3 separate regions of the Homo sapiens genome follow, and all the other regions are linked to region 1. Evidence: promoter capture Hi-C in human tissues and cell types (Jung and others, 2019). All regions are on one chromosome and are shown on one strand. The core of a region is centred on a gene start or on the middle of the fragment in contact, and the rest is flanking DNA. Distances in the headings are between cores, read along the strand shown. Region 1 holds the start of SNX15 (sorting nexin 15). Region 2 holds the start of FOSL1 (FOS like 1, AP-1 transcription factor subunit). Region 3 holds the start of LTBP3 (latent transforming growth factor beta binding protein 3).

What was found. The method cuts DNA at HindIII sites, captures the fragments that hold promoters and counts their contacts. A contact is called where the count stands out against the background at its distance.
Region 2: a contact is called between the fragment with the promoter of FOSL1 here and the fragment with the promoter of SNX15 in region 1, in 1 of the 25 tissues and cell types used here (dorsolateral prefrontal cortex).
Region 3: the fragment with the promoter of LTBP3 here is called in contact with the fragment with the promoter of SNX15 in region 1 in 1 of the 25 tissues and cell types used here (aorta).

What each region holds. Positions count from the first base shown.
Region 1 is chr11:65,024,853-65,029,939 of GRCh38, reverse strand. It overlaps SNX15 (sorting nexin 15), which reads right to left and starts at 2,501. Exons shown (of 8, transcript NM_013306.5): 1 at 2,304-2,501. The coding sequence starts at 2,402. ARL2-SNX15 (ARL2-SNX15 readthrough (NMD candidate)) reads right to left here. Exons shown (of 11, transcript NR_037650.2): 4 at 2,304-2,622. It also overlaps the pseudogene EEF1A1P18. RefSeq lists a silencer at 2,370-2,539 and an enhancer at 2,389-2,683. The HindIII fragment of the contact is 29,710 bases long and covers 1-5,087 here.
Region 2 is chr11:65,897,595-65,902,681 of GRCh38, reverse strand. It overlaps FOSL1 (FOS like 1, AP-1 transcription factor subunit), which reads left to right and starts at 2,294. Exons shown (of 4, transcript NM_005438.5): 1 at 2,294-2,441. The coding sequence starts at 2,343. RefSeq lists silencers at 1,903-2,502, 3,111-3,230, 3,196-3,423. The HindIII fragment of the contact is 4,995 bases long and covers 1,472-5,087 here.
Region 3 is chr11:65,556,047-65,561,133 of GRCh38, reverse strand. It overlaps LTBP3 (latent transforming growth factor beta binding protein 3), which reads left to right and starts at 2,775. Exons shown (of 28, transcript NM_001130144.3): 1 at 2,775-3,505. The coding sequence starts at 3,175. RefSeq lists an enhancer at 1-5 and silencers at 2,497-2,656, 2,707-2,946. The HindIII fragment of the contact is 15,125 bases long and covers 1-5,087 here.

The DNA of each region.
Region 1 (5,087 bases), core at 1,252-3,751:
ACACCAGCGTGGGTGACAGAGCAAGACCCCGTCGCAAATAAAATAAAATAAAATAAAAATATAGGCCAGGCGCGGTGGTTCACACCTGTAATTCCAGCACTTGGGAAGGCCGAGGTGGGAGGATAACTTGAGGTCAGGAGTTCGAGACCAGCCTGGCCAACACAGTGAAATCCCGTCTCTACTAAAAACACAAAAAGTAGCCGGGTGTGGTGGCACACGCCTATAATCCCAGCTACTCAGGAGGCTGAAGCAGGAGAACTGCATGAACCCAGGAGGTGGAGGCTACAGTGAGCTGAGATCACACCACTGTACTCCAGCCTGGGCGACAGAGCAAGACTCCGTCTCAAAAAATATATACATACATATATTTATATATTATGTGCTTTATATTTTATATTTATTATATATAATACATTGTATTATATAATATGTATAAAAATATATCAAAGTAATGCATGTTGCTTGGTTTAAAAAGCCAATGGGAGGCCGGGTGTGGTGGCTCACACCTGTAATCCCAGCACTTTGGGAGGCCAAGGCGGGTGGATCATGAGGTCAAGAGATCGAGACCATTCTGGCCAACATGGTGAAACCCCATCTCTGCCAAAAAATACGAATATTAGCTGGGCATGGTGACGCGTGCCTGTAGTCCCAGCTACCTGGGAGGTTGAGGTGGGAGAATCTGAACCCGGGCGACGGAAGTTTGCAGTGAGCTGAGATCGAGTCACTTCACTCCAGTCTGGGCGACAGTGAGACTCTGTCTCAAAAACAAAACAAAACAACGACACAAAAAAGCCACTGGGAAGACTTATTTTTATTTATTTATTTATTTATTTATTTATTTATATTTTTGAGACGGAGTCTCGCTCTGTCTCCCAGGCTGGAGTGCAGTGGCACAATCTCGGCTCACTGCAAGCTCCACCTCCCGGGTTCACTCCATTCTTCTACCTCAGCCTCCCGAGTACCTGGGACTACAGGTGCACGCTGCCACGCCCGTAAGTTTTTGTATTTTTAGTAGAGATGGGGTTTCACCATGGTAGCCAGGATGGTCTCGATCTCCTGACCTCGTGATCCGCCCGCCTCGGCCTCCCAAAGTGCTGGGATTACAGGCGTGAGCCACCGCGCCCGGCCACCACTGGGAAGACTTATAATAAAAGGTTACAGTTCCTTGCCACATCCTCCCCACCCCAGCCCCACCTCCAGTCTATCTTCCCAGGGACAATCTATTTATTTGCTTTTTTTTTTTTTTTTTTTAAAGTTGTGTGTGTGTCTGTATTTTAATATTGATCCGGGGTCTCACTATGTTGCCCAGGCTCGTCTTGAGCTCCTGAGCTCAAGCAATCTGCTGCCTCAGCCTCCCAAAGTGCTGGGATTTACAGGCATGAGCCACTGAGCCCGGCCTTATTTGCATTATTTTTAGGCATGGAAAAGACGTAAACGGTTTGGGGAAAGCATATTTTAAATAGCTAAGATTCTGCACTTAGATCACTTTGGAAGTGTCCTTATGTGCCTGCTTTGCTTTTAGAGTTAACTAATGCACCAGCTTAATAGTCGCCTGGTTGAAAATTCTAAAAGTACAAAAAATTTACAGTAAAAAGTCTTCCCCTAACTCCTGTCCCCAGTGACACAGTTCCTCTCCCTGGGGACCTTCCTTGTTACCAGTTCTTGTTATCATTCTACAGGTGTCCTGTTTTACTGTTTCATTTTTAATTATTGTCATGGTTTCCTCCATGTCTCTCTATAAATTGTGCTTATGATGTTGTTATCGCTTCATATATCAACTCTAGCCTATCTATCTTCCTGCTGTGACCTTGATATGGCGACTTACTCCTTAAGTCCTTCTGAACTGCATCAATTTTTTTCAACCACTGATCAGTATTATTTTTTGAAAAATTAAAAATGGTTAAACTCGTTAAAGGGAGTTTATGTAACATCAAACAAACCAATAAACAAAACTTACTCTACGAGAATGGAGTACTAATATTTGGATTAAACCAGAGTTTTCATGTTAATTTAGAGAAATTCACAGCCTGATGCCCAGACACTACACTCCGGGCGTGGGCATACACGCCTTGCCTGTCCGGGAACGGCCGTCAACGCCCTTTTAAAAAAGACAGCGCCCACCCAGGACCCCGCCCCCTGGTGGTTAAAGATGTAAACTAAGCCTCGTACTGCAACCTCCCCTTAAAGGGGAAACCCATTTCTGTCGTCTAAAAAGGGAGCAGTGGCTGCACCGCCTTTCCTTAAGGTAAAACTCGGCGCCCCTCTAGTTAAAAGGGTAAAGTACGCGCTGGGCCCCACCTCACCTGCGCGGTTACTTTGTACTCGGTGTAGCCCTTGGGGTGAGTCCTGGGGTCCGACACTGTGTAGTGCCGCAGGAAGTCATCCTTCGCCTGGCGGGACATGAAACCGAGCTGGAGCGGAGCGGAGCGCCGGCCTCCACCTCCTCGCCGTCCCCACCCCTCCGGCCCAGCCTCCGCCCGCCGCCGCCTCGCCAGGCCTGCGCTCTTCTTCCTCTGGCCTAGGGATTTTGTCGCAAGTGACAGCGCTGTTCCGATCCCGGGTGCGCGGCCAAGGGAGCGTCTGAAAAGTTCCTTCTCTGTGGTGAAGCGTAAACCCAGGTCACTGGAAAGATTGGTTGGGAAGGCTGGGATCACTCGTCTCATTTCTGCCGGGTGATCAAGCCCACCCTATCCAAGCGTAAACCCTTGTCACAGACTTCCAAACGACTTCTCCCCGCTTCCTAAATCCCTGCTTTCGTTCATCCACCCAACTCTTATTGTGTCCAGTATGTACAGGACAACGTCAAATTATTTCCCTGTCTCCCTCCACAGGATTCCCTAATTCATGTTTTCTGGAAAGTAGAGGAAGCAAAGAAGGTTGGAGAAGCAGGATGGTGTCATGGGCTCTGAGTCACGACTCTTACTAGCTGTAGGAGTTTCCCTTAACTACTCAGCCTCAGTTTCTCATCTGTAGAATGGAGATGTTTATAATAGAATCTGTGTAGGGCAGTGGAGCTTTTTTGCGATGGGTTTGCTGCCAGAACACAGGTGTCGTGAAAACCACCGTTAAATCAAAGCCAAAATGGGGGTTTGGCGCGGTGGTTCACGCCTGTAATCCCAGCATTTTGGGCAGTGGAGGCAGGTGGATCACTTGAGGTCAGGAGTTCAAGACCAGCCTGGCCAACATGGTGAAACCCCGTTTCTACTAAAAATACAAAAATTAGCTGGGCGTGGTGGCGCACGCCTGTAATTCCAGCTACTCCAGGGGCTGAGCTGGCTGATGGCTTCAGCCCAGGAGGTTGAGGCTGCAGTGAGCTGCAATCACACCACTGCACTCCAGCCTGGGCAACAGAGTGAGACTCCATCTCAAAAGAAAGGGAGCAGGGGAGGGAAAAGACTCAGCTCAACATCATCATCTGATTTGGGCAAGTCCAGCACTACTGGCCATCTGATCTACAAGTGTGGTGGGATCCACAAAAGAACCATCGACAATTTTGAGGAAGCTGCTGAGATGGGAAAGGGCTCCTTCAAGCATACCTGGGTCTTGGGTAAGCTGAAAGTTGAACGTGAGAGTGGTATCACCACTGATACCTCCCTGCTGGCAATTGAGACCAGCAAGTACTATGTGACCATCCTCAATGGCCCAGGATGCAGAGACTTTATCAAAAACCTGACCTCAGGCTAATTGTGCTGTCCTGATTGTTGCTGCTGGTGTTGATGAATTTGAAGCTGGTAATTCCAAGAATGGGCAGACGCGTGAGCACACCCTTCTGTCTTACACGCTGGGTGTGAAACTAATTGTTGGTGTTAACAAAATGGATCCCAATGAGCCACCCTAAAGAGGAGAGATGGGGGCCGGGCGTGGTGGCTCACGCCTGTAATCCCAGCAGTTTGGGAGGCAGAGGTGGGTGGATTAGGAAGTCAGGAGTTCAAGACCAGCCTGACCAAGATGGTGAAACCCCGTCTCTACTAAAAATACAAAAATTAGCTGGGCATGGTGGCGGGTGCCTGTAATCCCAGCTACTTGGGAGGCTGAGGCAGAGAATTGCCTGAAACCAGGAGGCAGAGGTTGCAGTGAGCTGAGATCGTGCCACTGCACTCCAGCCTGGGAGACAGAGGACAGAGTGAGACTCCGTCTCAAAAAAAAAAAAAAAAAAAAAAGGAGAGATGGGAGAAATCATTAAGGAAATCAGCACCTACATTAAGAAATTGGCTACAACTCTGACATAGTAGTATTTGTGCCAATATCTGGTTGGAGTGGTCACAACAGGCGGGAGCCAAGAGCTCACATGCCTTGGCTCAAGGGATGGAAAGTCACCTGTAAAGATGGCGATGCTGTGGAACCACGCTGCTCGGAAGCTCTAGATCACATCCTACCACCAACTCACAAGCTCTTGGTTCTGCCCCTCCAGACGTCCACAAAATTGGTGGTATTGGTACTGTCAGTGTGGGCCACGTGGAGACTGGTGTTCCCAAACCTGGCATGGGTTTTGAGACCTTTGCTCCAGTCAGTGTTAGAATTGAAGCAAAAATCTGTTGAAATGCAGCATGAAGTTGGTAGGCTTACATACAACACATAGTATTTACTGCAGAGGAAGCATTGTGAATAGCCACTCTTGTTCCTGGAATTCAGGTGTACAGGTGCGGTGCCTTGGTCTTCAGAAAGAAGCAAAGCCTGGCATGGGGCTCATGCCTGTAATCCCAGCACTTTGGGAAGCCAAGGCGGGAGGATCACTTGAGGCCAGGAGTTCAAGACCAGCCTGGGCAACAGGCTGCCTCTGATTTCATGAGAAATTTAAAAATTAGCTGGGGGCCAGGTGCAGTGGCTCATGCCTGTAATCCCAGCACTTTGGGAGGCCAAGTCGGGCGGATTACTTGATATCAGGAGTTCAAGACCAGCCTGGCCAACATGATGAAACCCCATCTCTACTAAAAATACAAAAATTAGCCAGGTGTGGTGTCGGGTGCCTATAATCCCAGCTACTCGGGAGAATGGGGCAGGAGAGTTGCTTGAACCCGGCAGGCAGAGATTGCACTTAACCTTCTGGAGGAAATGTCATCCAGGAGCCAGTCAATGCCAGGCAGTGG
Region 2 (5,087 bases), core at 1,045-3,544, 870 kb before region 1:
TTACAGGCGTGAGCCACGGCACCCAGCCTATGTGTCAAATTCTTACTATGTGCTGTGCTAAGCATGTGACATTACTTGTGTCCTCCAACAACCCTTGAGATAGTTATCATTATGTCTCCATTTCACAGATAATGAAAGAGGCTCTGAGAGATTGTGTGCCTCACCTAGGTCACACAACTGGTGAGCAGCCTAACCACATTCAAACCCAGACCCCAGAGCTGTCTGACCCCAGCACGGGTGTTCTGTCCACGGATCATACTGCCTCAAAAACACTCTCCTCTCCTTTCTCTCTCTCTTTCTCTCTCTCTCTCTCTCTCTCTCACACACACACACACACACACACACAGAGATGATGATGACAAGAGGGTGACAAGCATTGGGTCGCTCAAAGGCAAAGGAGAGGCACCAGGCTGGTAACCACTTTCTGAGTGCATAACACTTTATAGCTTACAAAGCATTTTCACATCTGTGATCTCACTTGATCCCACAACAGCTCTGTGAGATCAGCAGGGAGGCCCAGTTGAAGGAAGGTGACCTGCCCAGTGTCACACAGACAGAAAATGGTAGCTCTGGGACTAGAACCCCAGGGGCAATCTGGACTTCCTGGCTCTAAGTCCTGAGTGCACCCACAGGCTTCTGGCCTGTGTTCCCAAGGAAAGTAGCCCAGAGGGCAAAGCTAGAGCTGATGAAATGGAAGGACCGATGGAGAAGCAGGAGAGCCCAGCCCTCTCTTGATCTATTTACTTTGAGTCTTGCTCTGTCCCCCAGGCTGGACTGCAGTGGCGCAGTCACAGCTCACCGCAGCCTCAACCTCCCTGGCTTAAGCCATCCTCCCGCCTCAGCCTCCAGAACAGCTGGGACCACAAGGCAGGCGTACCACCATGTCCAGAAAATTTTATAATTTTTTGTAGAGATGGGGTCTCAAATGGTTCTTTCTGCCTTGGCCTTCCAAAGTGCTAGGATTACAAGCATGAGCCACCACACCTGGCCCCAGCCCTCTTTCTGTAGTCGTGTGACAACTGACAGCTCAGTACTCCATCTGGGCCTCAGTTTCCTCATCTATGATGGAAGTAATCAGAGAGAAGCTTTGGGATGGTGCCCAGCACTAACATTCTGGATGTGCGACAAGGTGTCTGTGAAGGTGTAAGGGCTTTGAAAATCTTGGCTGAGCCTGGGCTTGGAGTGCCCACGGCTGTGACTTGGCAACCTGTGCCAGCTACTCACTTAGCGACTTCAAGCAATTCATTTCAGCATCTCCCAGCCTCAGTTTCCCCATCTGTAAAACAGAGATGAGGATGATACCTGCCTCACATTCACTCACCTTTGACATACTCTCCAAACAAGTCTGGTGGCCACAAGCCTCCGAAAGGCACTGACCGTAATGAAGATGGCGTTTATCAGACCTCAGGACACCTGTAGTGGCCCTGAATTAAAACTCGTTATAGCTCCTGAAATTATCCTGAGTAATACTATTATATTGCATTTTATGTGGGGTTAGTTCAAAGCATTACCTTATCGCAAACATTTAAAATATACCACCCAGCCTGGGCAATACGGCGAGACCCAATCCCTACAAAAAACACAAAAATTACCTGGGTGTGGTGACGCGCGCCTGTAGTCCCACTTACTTGGAGGGGGCGCTGAGGCAGGAGAATCCCTTTAGCTCAGGAAGTTGAGCCTGCAGTGCGCCGAGATCGAGCCACTGCACTCCAGCCTGGGTGACAGAGACCCGGTCTCAAAAATATAAAGTAAAATAAAATATGCCACCATTTTTGTAACCCTGGTTTGTCATTTATTCACTTTTCATATACTCGAAGCCTTAAAACAAGGCCAGTGGAAAGACCTCACTCCACGAAGCTTTGGGTGGCGGTTGGCGTGGCTCCTAGAGATGTGATTCTTTCGTGCTATTTTGTGGGAGCAGAAACGGAGGTTAGCCCAGGCCTCGAGAGGGCTGGGGCGGGGCGCGGGCTCTGGCAGGTGCGTCAGTCCGCAGGGGAACCCGGGGCTCCACCTGGGCGCGGCGAGGAAGTTACACCATGTATGGGCAGCTACGTCAGGGGGGCGGGCCCGCAGCCTCCGGGGAACGCCGAGCCGGGCCCATCCCGGTGAAAAGGCTGCAGCCGGACTTGGGGAGGCGTCGCCAAGTTCGGGACCGACGGGCCAAGGCGGCGCGTCTCGGGGGTGGAGCCTGGAGGTGACCGCGCCGCTGCAACGCCCCCACCCCCCGCGGTCGCAGTGGTTCAGCCCGAGAACTTTTCATTCATAAAAAGAAAAGACTCCGCACGGCGCGGGTGAGTCAGAACCCAGCAGCCGTGTACCCCGCAGAGCCGCCAGCCCCGGGCATGTTCCGAGACTTCGGGGAACCCGGCCCGAGCTCCGGGAACGGCGGCGGGTACGGCGGCCCCGCGCAGCCCCCGGCCGCAGCGCAGGCAGCCCAGCAGGTGAGTGGGGCCCGACGCCGGTGGTCCCACGGGAGGACCGCGCGTGGGAGGCCGGGGTCAACTCCCGCACGCTCCGGGACTGGAGCGGGGAACCGGAGTCGGGGCCGGGCTGGGGGCTGGGGCGAGGATCCTGCCCCTCGCCGTCCGGGGCCAGTTGCCCCCACCGCGCAGCGGGCAGCAGAGACCCGCGAACTCCCCTTCTCCCAGCCGCCCCCTTCTCCCTCGCCGTCCGCGTCCGTCCCTCCGTCTCCGTGCCCGCTTTCTCTCCTCCTGCCCACCTCTGACTTCTGCGTCCACCCTGCTTCAGAAGGGGCGTGGGCGCCTAGGGTGGTCGCCTCGAAGGCTAGGAGGGTCTCTCCGCTTCGGGCTGAATTCCTGGGATCTGGAGTCTGGGCTGGGGTGAGGGTCCCCACACGGGAGGGAGGCGGGATCCGTCGGGAGAGCAGCTGGGCCAGGGTGGGAGTCCCGGCCCGGTCTGCGACCCTCCGCGTGTCCGTCCGTCTGTCTGTCCTTCGCCCCTCCGTCGCCAAGTCCCTATCGTTTCTCGGCCTGGGGAGTCCAGGGGGGTCCGGGCAGTGGAACCTGCCAGGTCCCCGGAGACCGGCCCTCGATCCCTTTGCCGAATGCGGCGAATAGAGACCTCGAGGTTCCGGGACGTGCGCGGGGTCAGGCTGCGGGCGACTCTCGCGACCCCACTCTCAGCCCCTAACGGCGCCCGCTGCCCGCCGGGGGGCACCCGGGAGGCTGCAGGTGCCCATTTCCTGTCGAGGGGCTGCGAGCACGTGTCGACAGGGGAGGGAAGGAGGGGCGTCCGTTCCGCCGAGTCACGGCGGCCGAGTCACGGCGGCTGAGTCACCCGGGGCGTCCCTCCCTTCCTGGCCTGGAGCGGCCCGGGCCCGGGAGTGGGAGATGCCGCCGGCGGTGCCTCGGACCCGGAACTGGGGTCACTGGGACGCCGGGCCCGCAGCGCTTGGGCTCGGGCTACCGCTGTCGGGACTTGCCTGGGCTTGTGGGCGCTTCCCGGACGATTGGGCGCCCACACCCAGGGCCCAGCGGCAGAGCTAGAACCCACTTCTCCCAGAACACTGAGCCCCATCCCAACCCACTCCTCAGATAGCTGGCTGATAGAATGGGAACAGGGACGTTGTGCTGGGCGCTTGCTACATCATTTACCATATTTCACGGAATCGAAGACCTCATCGATTGAAAAAAAAACCCACTATAACTTTATGCCACTAATTTTCTTTCCTTCTCTTTCTTTTCTTTTTTTTTTTTTTTCTGAGACAGGGTCTCCCTCTGTTGCCCAGACTATAGAGCAGTGGTGCAATCACAGCTCACTGCAGCCTCAGCCTCCTGGGCTCAAGCAATCCTACTGAGATCCTAGCTGGGAAGCGACCTGGCCACAGGCACGCACCACCACACCCAACTAATTTTTTAATTTTTTTGTAGAAATGAAGTCTCACTGTGTTGCCCGGTGTGACCTCAAACTCCTGAGCTCAAGTGATCCTTCTACCTCAGCCTCCCAAAGTGCTGGGTATGAGCCACCATGCCTAGTCCACTAAAATTTTTTAAATTGCCAATTAAACTATGATTTCAGAGCTATTAAAGGGTACTTCTTAACATCAGTGAAATCCTGTAATCCTCACCTGTAACAATATTAAAAATGAGGAAACTGAGGCACATGGAGGTTAAATAACTTGCCCATGGTCACACAGCCAGTAAGTAGCTGAGAGCTGAGATTAGAATTGGGACAGCCTGCCATGCCAGGTGGCTAAAGCCTGTCATCTCAACACTTTGGGAGGCTGAGGTGGGTGGACTGCTTCAGCTCAGGAATTTGAGACCACCCTGGGCAACCTAGTGAGACCCTGTCTCTACAAAAAAATTTAAAAAAAATTAGCCAGGCCGTGCGCGGTGCCTCATGCCTATAATCCCAGCACTGTGGGAGGCCAAGGCGGGTGGATCACCAGAGGTCAGGAGTTCAAGACCAGCCTGGCCAACATAGTGAAACCCTGTCTCTACTAAAAATACAAAAATTAGCCGGGCACAGTTGTGGGCGCCTGTAGTCCCAGCTACTCGGGAGGCTGAGGCAGGAGAATTGCTTGAATCCAGGAGGTGGAGGTTGCAGTGAGGCGAGATCGGGCTACTGCACTCCAACCTGGGTGACAAAGCAAGACTGTGTCTCAAAAAAAAAAAAACAGAAAAGAAAAAAAAAATTAGCCAAATGTGGTGGTGCACGTCGGTAGTCCCAGCTACTTGGGAGGCTGAGGTGGGAGGATTGCTTGAGCCCGCAGGTCACTGCACTCCAACCTGGGTGAAAGAGTGAGACCCTGTCTCAAGAAAAAAAAAAAAAAAAGCAATGGAATGGCCTGAACCCAGAGCAGTGACTCTTTCCTGCCTCAGCCCCTCTGCACTGGGCACCTGCCACTTACCAGACTGTCGCACACATTCTCTCACCTGATTCTCACAGCCTCCCCTTGAGCTGGGAGCTGTAATTATCCTCTTCGTGCAAACGGGTGCAGGAGTGGGTAAGAGCCCAGCTGCTGGGCTCATTGGCTCTGTGTCTGCGGACAACTGTTCTCCCGTCTGAAAATGAAGATACTAGGCTGGGCGCTGTGGTTCACGCCTGTAATCCCAGCACTTTGGGAG
Region 3 (5,087 bases), core at 1,526-4,025, 530 kb before region 1:
TAGCCCCAGTGGTTTCAGCTATTTCCTGCGGAGGCCCTGAGAGCTGAAGGAATTTGGTTGGATATCATTTGAGTTGGGCATCATTACTGGGCTGGACACTTTCATTGATCCTTCTCACTGAGTCCCCTCATCAGCCCCTGAAGAAGGGCTGTTATCCCCCCATCATACTGGCAGCAGCTTTAGACACCGAGGGCCACACCGTCCTCCTGGCTCTTCCCCACCACACTCCTGGTTTTCCTCTCTGCTCCCTCCAGCTGCTCTTTCTGGTCTTTCGCCTGACTCCGCCTCCTCTCCCTGCCTGACTCCGCCTCCTCTCCCTGACCCGGGAACAGTGATCTCCCTGGGCACCCTGGGCTCTCTTCTCTCCATAGTAAGCCCACCCTTTCCCGCTGTCGTAGATGCCCCCTGTATAACCCCAAGCCTCTGTCTCCAGGCCAGACATCCTGTCTGAGCTGCAGACTCCCGGGTTCGGGCACCTCCACTTGGATGACTCACAAGCATCTCAAACTCAGCAGGACCAGAACAGAGCTGTGGACCCTGCCCCATGTTTCCAGCTCCTCTGCCTCCCCTCTTCTTCGCCCATCCAGAGATCAGGCCAGGAATCTGGGGGCCATTCATGCCACCTACCTCTCCAGCACCCCTACTTCACCCAGTCTTTACATCTCCCCTCCCAAATACATCTCTCCCAGGGCCAAGTGAGATCTCTCTCCTGGGATGAAGGCAGAGTGCCCGCTCTTGCCCTGACACAGTCCCACTGCAATGAGAATAAAAGCAAATTCCTCACCATGGCCGGCCCCTCCCACCACCACTACACCTTCGGCTCTCCCTCTCCACCACACCCTGTTGTTCCACTGGCCTTCCCTCAGTTCTCTGGATAGCCTCCCCCTGCAGCCTCCCCTGAGGTCAGATGCCCACAGGTGTGACTCACTCCTACTCATCTTCCAGCTTCCGATGGAAGACTCTCTTTGTCTCCCAGGTCCCAGCCCTCTCCTGTCCTGCTTCCCTGCCCTTCTCTGTCACGGTACCAGCCTCTGTTGTAGCCACAGTTCTGTGTGAATTGATCTGGCACATATCCAGCTCTCCTAGTACAGCAGCTCCAGGAAGGCAGGACTGGTTCTATTTGTGGCCAAGAGCTTAGGATGTGGTGGAGTCTCAGTTTGTTGAGTGAATTTTTTACATTTATTTTTTAATTTTTTGTTTTTTATTACCAGTAGTTGAACATAGATGTTGAGTGAATAGATACCCATCTCACAAGCAAGGAAACTGGGGCTTAGAGACAGTAAGAATCCAACCCTGGACTGTTTGACTGTGCTGTGCTCCATGGTGAGCCACAGCCAGCTCTAGGCAGAGTCAGGACAGGTTCAGATGAGTGTTAGGAAAAAATGAGTATACAATGCTCAGCCCTGTGCCTGGCAGGTGGTCGGCACCTAGCATTATTCCCTGCCTCCGTGTGGACCAGGGCCCCAAGAAGCAGGGGCTTGCCCCTCACACCCCATCCTGGATTCCGGCAGCAGGGATCCCTGGGGACATGTGATTGTCCCTCCCAGCCCTGCACCGCTTAGTAAGGGGGACTTACTAAGCGTCCCCCTAAAGCTACCCACATCAACTTACGCTCAAAGTAAAAACAGAGTTCCTTGGACAGGTGTGCCTGAAAGTGAGTCCCTGAACCTCCTCTCCCCAATTAGACTGCTGCCCCGGGTGCTGTCCGGGAGAGGGTCTGGTGCCGCCCTGACTTGGCAGCGCTTTTCCTGGATGTGCCCTAGCCGTCCCCACCTCCTGCTGAGTTCTGTGAGTCAGAGACGGAACCCTGGGGTCTCCTGGCAGGCCCCACAGTAAGGCCTGGGCCCCCGCACGTTGCAGCCTTTCCTTCCAGACCAGCGGACAAGCCTGGTCTGGAACTATGCTCCTCTCCAGCCATGGCCAACCTGAAGACCCCCACCCCCAGCCGCTGCCAGCCCCTGCCCTGGGGCTCTGCTGTGCCCCTCTCCAGCCCCTGGGCCCTCGGACAGCGCCCCCGTCCTCCCGGCTGTTAGCCTGGGAAGGGGGCCAGGCCCTGAGCTCAGACCTTGGCGATTCCAGAGTGTCTGAGGCCCAGAGCCAGCCCCGCCAGCACGGCCAGACGAAAGGAAAGGGGGGAGGTGGCAGGGTGGGCACCAGGAAGCCATTCCGAGGGGGCTGGCAGGGAAGCTGGGTTCTAGCTTTGTTCTTTCTGCTCCTCTTCTGGACCCCACAGACTTCCTCCTGGGACCTCCGTGAGCCCTGGCCAAAGGCTGTCCCCACCCTTTAGCCCTTTCCTCAGAGGGGATTGGACCAGCACTAACGAGAAGTTACTTTGGGGCCCTGAGACCCCCACGTTTGCAAGGGAGGCTGGGAAAGAGCTGGAAGGCCTGGGCTCCGGCTCCACCCGGCCTCCATCGTCAGTGTGACCCGGCAGGGCCACCTCTCTCCCTCAGCCTCGGTATCTCGCTCTACGCAGGCCTCCCCGCCCCGCCCCGCCCGGAGGAATCCGCGGCCGGCCAGACGGTCCCAGGTGAGGGCCCTCTGGAAAGGGCCCAGCGCGGCCGCGGGTTCCGGCGGGGGCGGGCATCTGGGGTGGGGACTGTCCCCGCGCCACCCCCCAGCCTCCGCCAGCCTGCACACCCTCGCTTCTCCAGGCGGCAGAGGCGACGCTTTAAACAACAAAAAAAAAAAAACTGTGTCCCTGGCCCGGGGCCAGCGTCCCAGCCCCCCTCGCCGCCGCCGCGCCGCGCTCCAGCCAGGGAAAACAACTGCTCACTTCTCCCTGAGCCCTCCCCGCGCGCTCCCTGCCTCCCCGCGGCCGCGGGAGAGGAGCCCGGCCAGGGGGAGGCGCGGAGCGGGCCGGCCGCCCGGCCTTCCTCTCCCTCGCTCCTCCTCTCCGCCTCAACTTGCTCCGGCCTCCTCGCTCCTGCCTGAGTTCGGGGCCTGGTCTGGGCTTCGTCCTGGGGCTGGGAAGTTTCTGCGCTCCCCGCTGTCCAGTCTGCATCTCCGCGCCTCCCGCCGGGCCCCCGCGGTCCCCTCCCGCCCGCTTCCCCCGCTGCCCTCCCTCGCTGCCCCCTACCCTCTCCCGGGGCTCCCGGCCCTCTACTCCCTTCGGGCGCGGGCCCCTCGCCCCGCCCGGGCGCGCCCCCCCTCCCCCGGGTCCTGCGGCCCCGGATGCCCGGGCCCCGAGGGGCTGCTGGCGGCCTGGCCCCTGAGATGCGCGGGGCGGGGGCGGCGGGGCTGCTGGCGCTGCTGCTGCTGCTGCTGCTGCTGCTGCTGGGCCTGGGCGGCAGGGTCGAGGGGGGGCCGGCCGGCGAGCGGGGCGCAGGCGGGGGCGGGGCGCTGGCCCGCGAGCGCTTCAAGGTGGTCTTTGCGCCGGTGATCTGCAAGCGGACCTGTCTCAAGGGCCAGTGTCGGGACAGTTGTCAGCAGGGCTCCAACATGACGCTCATCGGAGAGAACGGCCACAGCACAGACACGCTCACGGGCTCCGGCTTCCGCGTGGGTGAGGGCCGGGGGCACGGCTGGGGGCAGGGGAAGGACAGGCACCAGGCCCGGTGGGAGAGCTAGTGGGGTCTTGGCCTTAGAGACTGGGGGCTGAGGGTATAAAGGGCAGAGATCCGAGGGCCTGGGGGACCAGGGGCCTCAGGGAACTTGGGAGGCTGGAACTCTGGGGGCCAGAGTTGGAGGGCTGCATGGAGGCCTGGACTTTGAAGCTTTGCGTTAGGGTTGGGGCCTAAGGGGTGGGGAAATGCAGAGGTCCTGGATGACACTGGCTTCCCAGAAGGTGCTGAGTTCTGAGCAGGAGCACACAGGGTTTTTGAGGAATGTGAGCCGGGGACAGGAAGCCTCAGAGAAGGGCTAAATATTCCCGCAAGAAGCAGACTTGCTGGAAGAAACAAGAAAAGTCTTTACAAAATGTCTAAAGTAGGGCCTGCCAGAGTAGACACCTGCATTCCCTGGGAGGAGGAGCTAAGGTCAGGGCTGGGGATGGGAGCCGGCTACTGGCAAGGTCTGAGTAGGGAGGGTGTTGAGGCCTAAAAGTAGGGTGCAGGCCTGAAGGTAGGGACTAGTTCGGGGTTCTCAGCCTCTCCTTTTCCAATGCCTCCCCATAAGCTCCTAACATCCTGCCTCAGAGGCCCTCAGGGCCCCCCTCATCCTCCCCCAAGCCCCTACACCCTCCCCAGTTCAGCTTGGAGTCCACCCCCTCCCCAGCATCTCTCTTTAAAGGGCCAGGCCTGGGGCTCAGTCATCCTCCTGCTAGGCCCCGTGGGCCAGGCTCGGGGAGGTGTCCCAGCAGTAATTACCCTCCTGGACAGGGTAATTAGGCCAGGCCCAGGATGGCACCAGCAAAACAGCCCCTCTTACACATTCCTATATTCACTCTCCCACTCACAGAGCTAAGGAACCCCACTCATGTGGCTCAAATTTGTCATGAGATGGGGTGTGCGTGCGTGTGTCTGTGCGCATATTGCCCCTGTGTCTGGGGTCATGCCATGGGCATGGCGTGGCACACTGTGAAGTACCCGTCTTTGTGTTGTCTTGGGTGTGTGTCTCTAGTCGCTGTTAGAGAGTATGTGGGAATGTTTTTGTTTTTGTGTTTTTGAGATGGAGTTTTGCTCTTGTTACCCAGGCTGGAGTGCAATGGCGCAATCTCAGCTCACTGCAACCTCCCCCTTCTGGGTTCAAGTGATTCTCCTGCCTCAGCCTCCCAAGTAGCTGGGATTACAGGCATGCGCCACCACGCCTGGCCAATTTTTTTGTATTTAGTAGAGATGGAGTTTCACCATGTTGGTCAGCCTGGTCTCAAACTCCTGATCTCGAGTGATCTACCTGCCTCGGCCTCCCAAAGTGCTGGGATTACAGGTGTGAGCCACTGCGCCCGGCCAAATGTATGGGAATGTTTATGTGAACCTGTGTTGGTGTCAGGATGAGTCTCTGTGTGTGTGTGACAAGAGGACTGTGGGTGTGAGTGTACGTGTGTCCATCTCCCAGGCTCCCTGGCCATCCTGCCCAGGCTGCTGTCTCCATCTGTGCTGCCCACATCCCCCAGGCTCGGTGCCCAGGCCACAGTGGGCGGGTGTCAT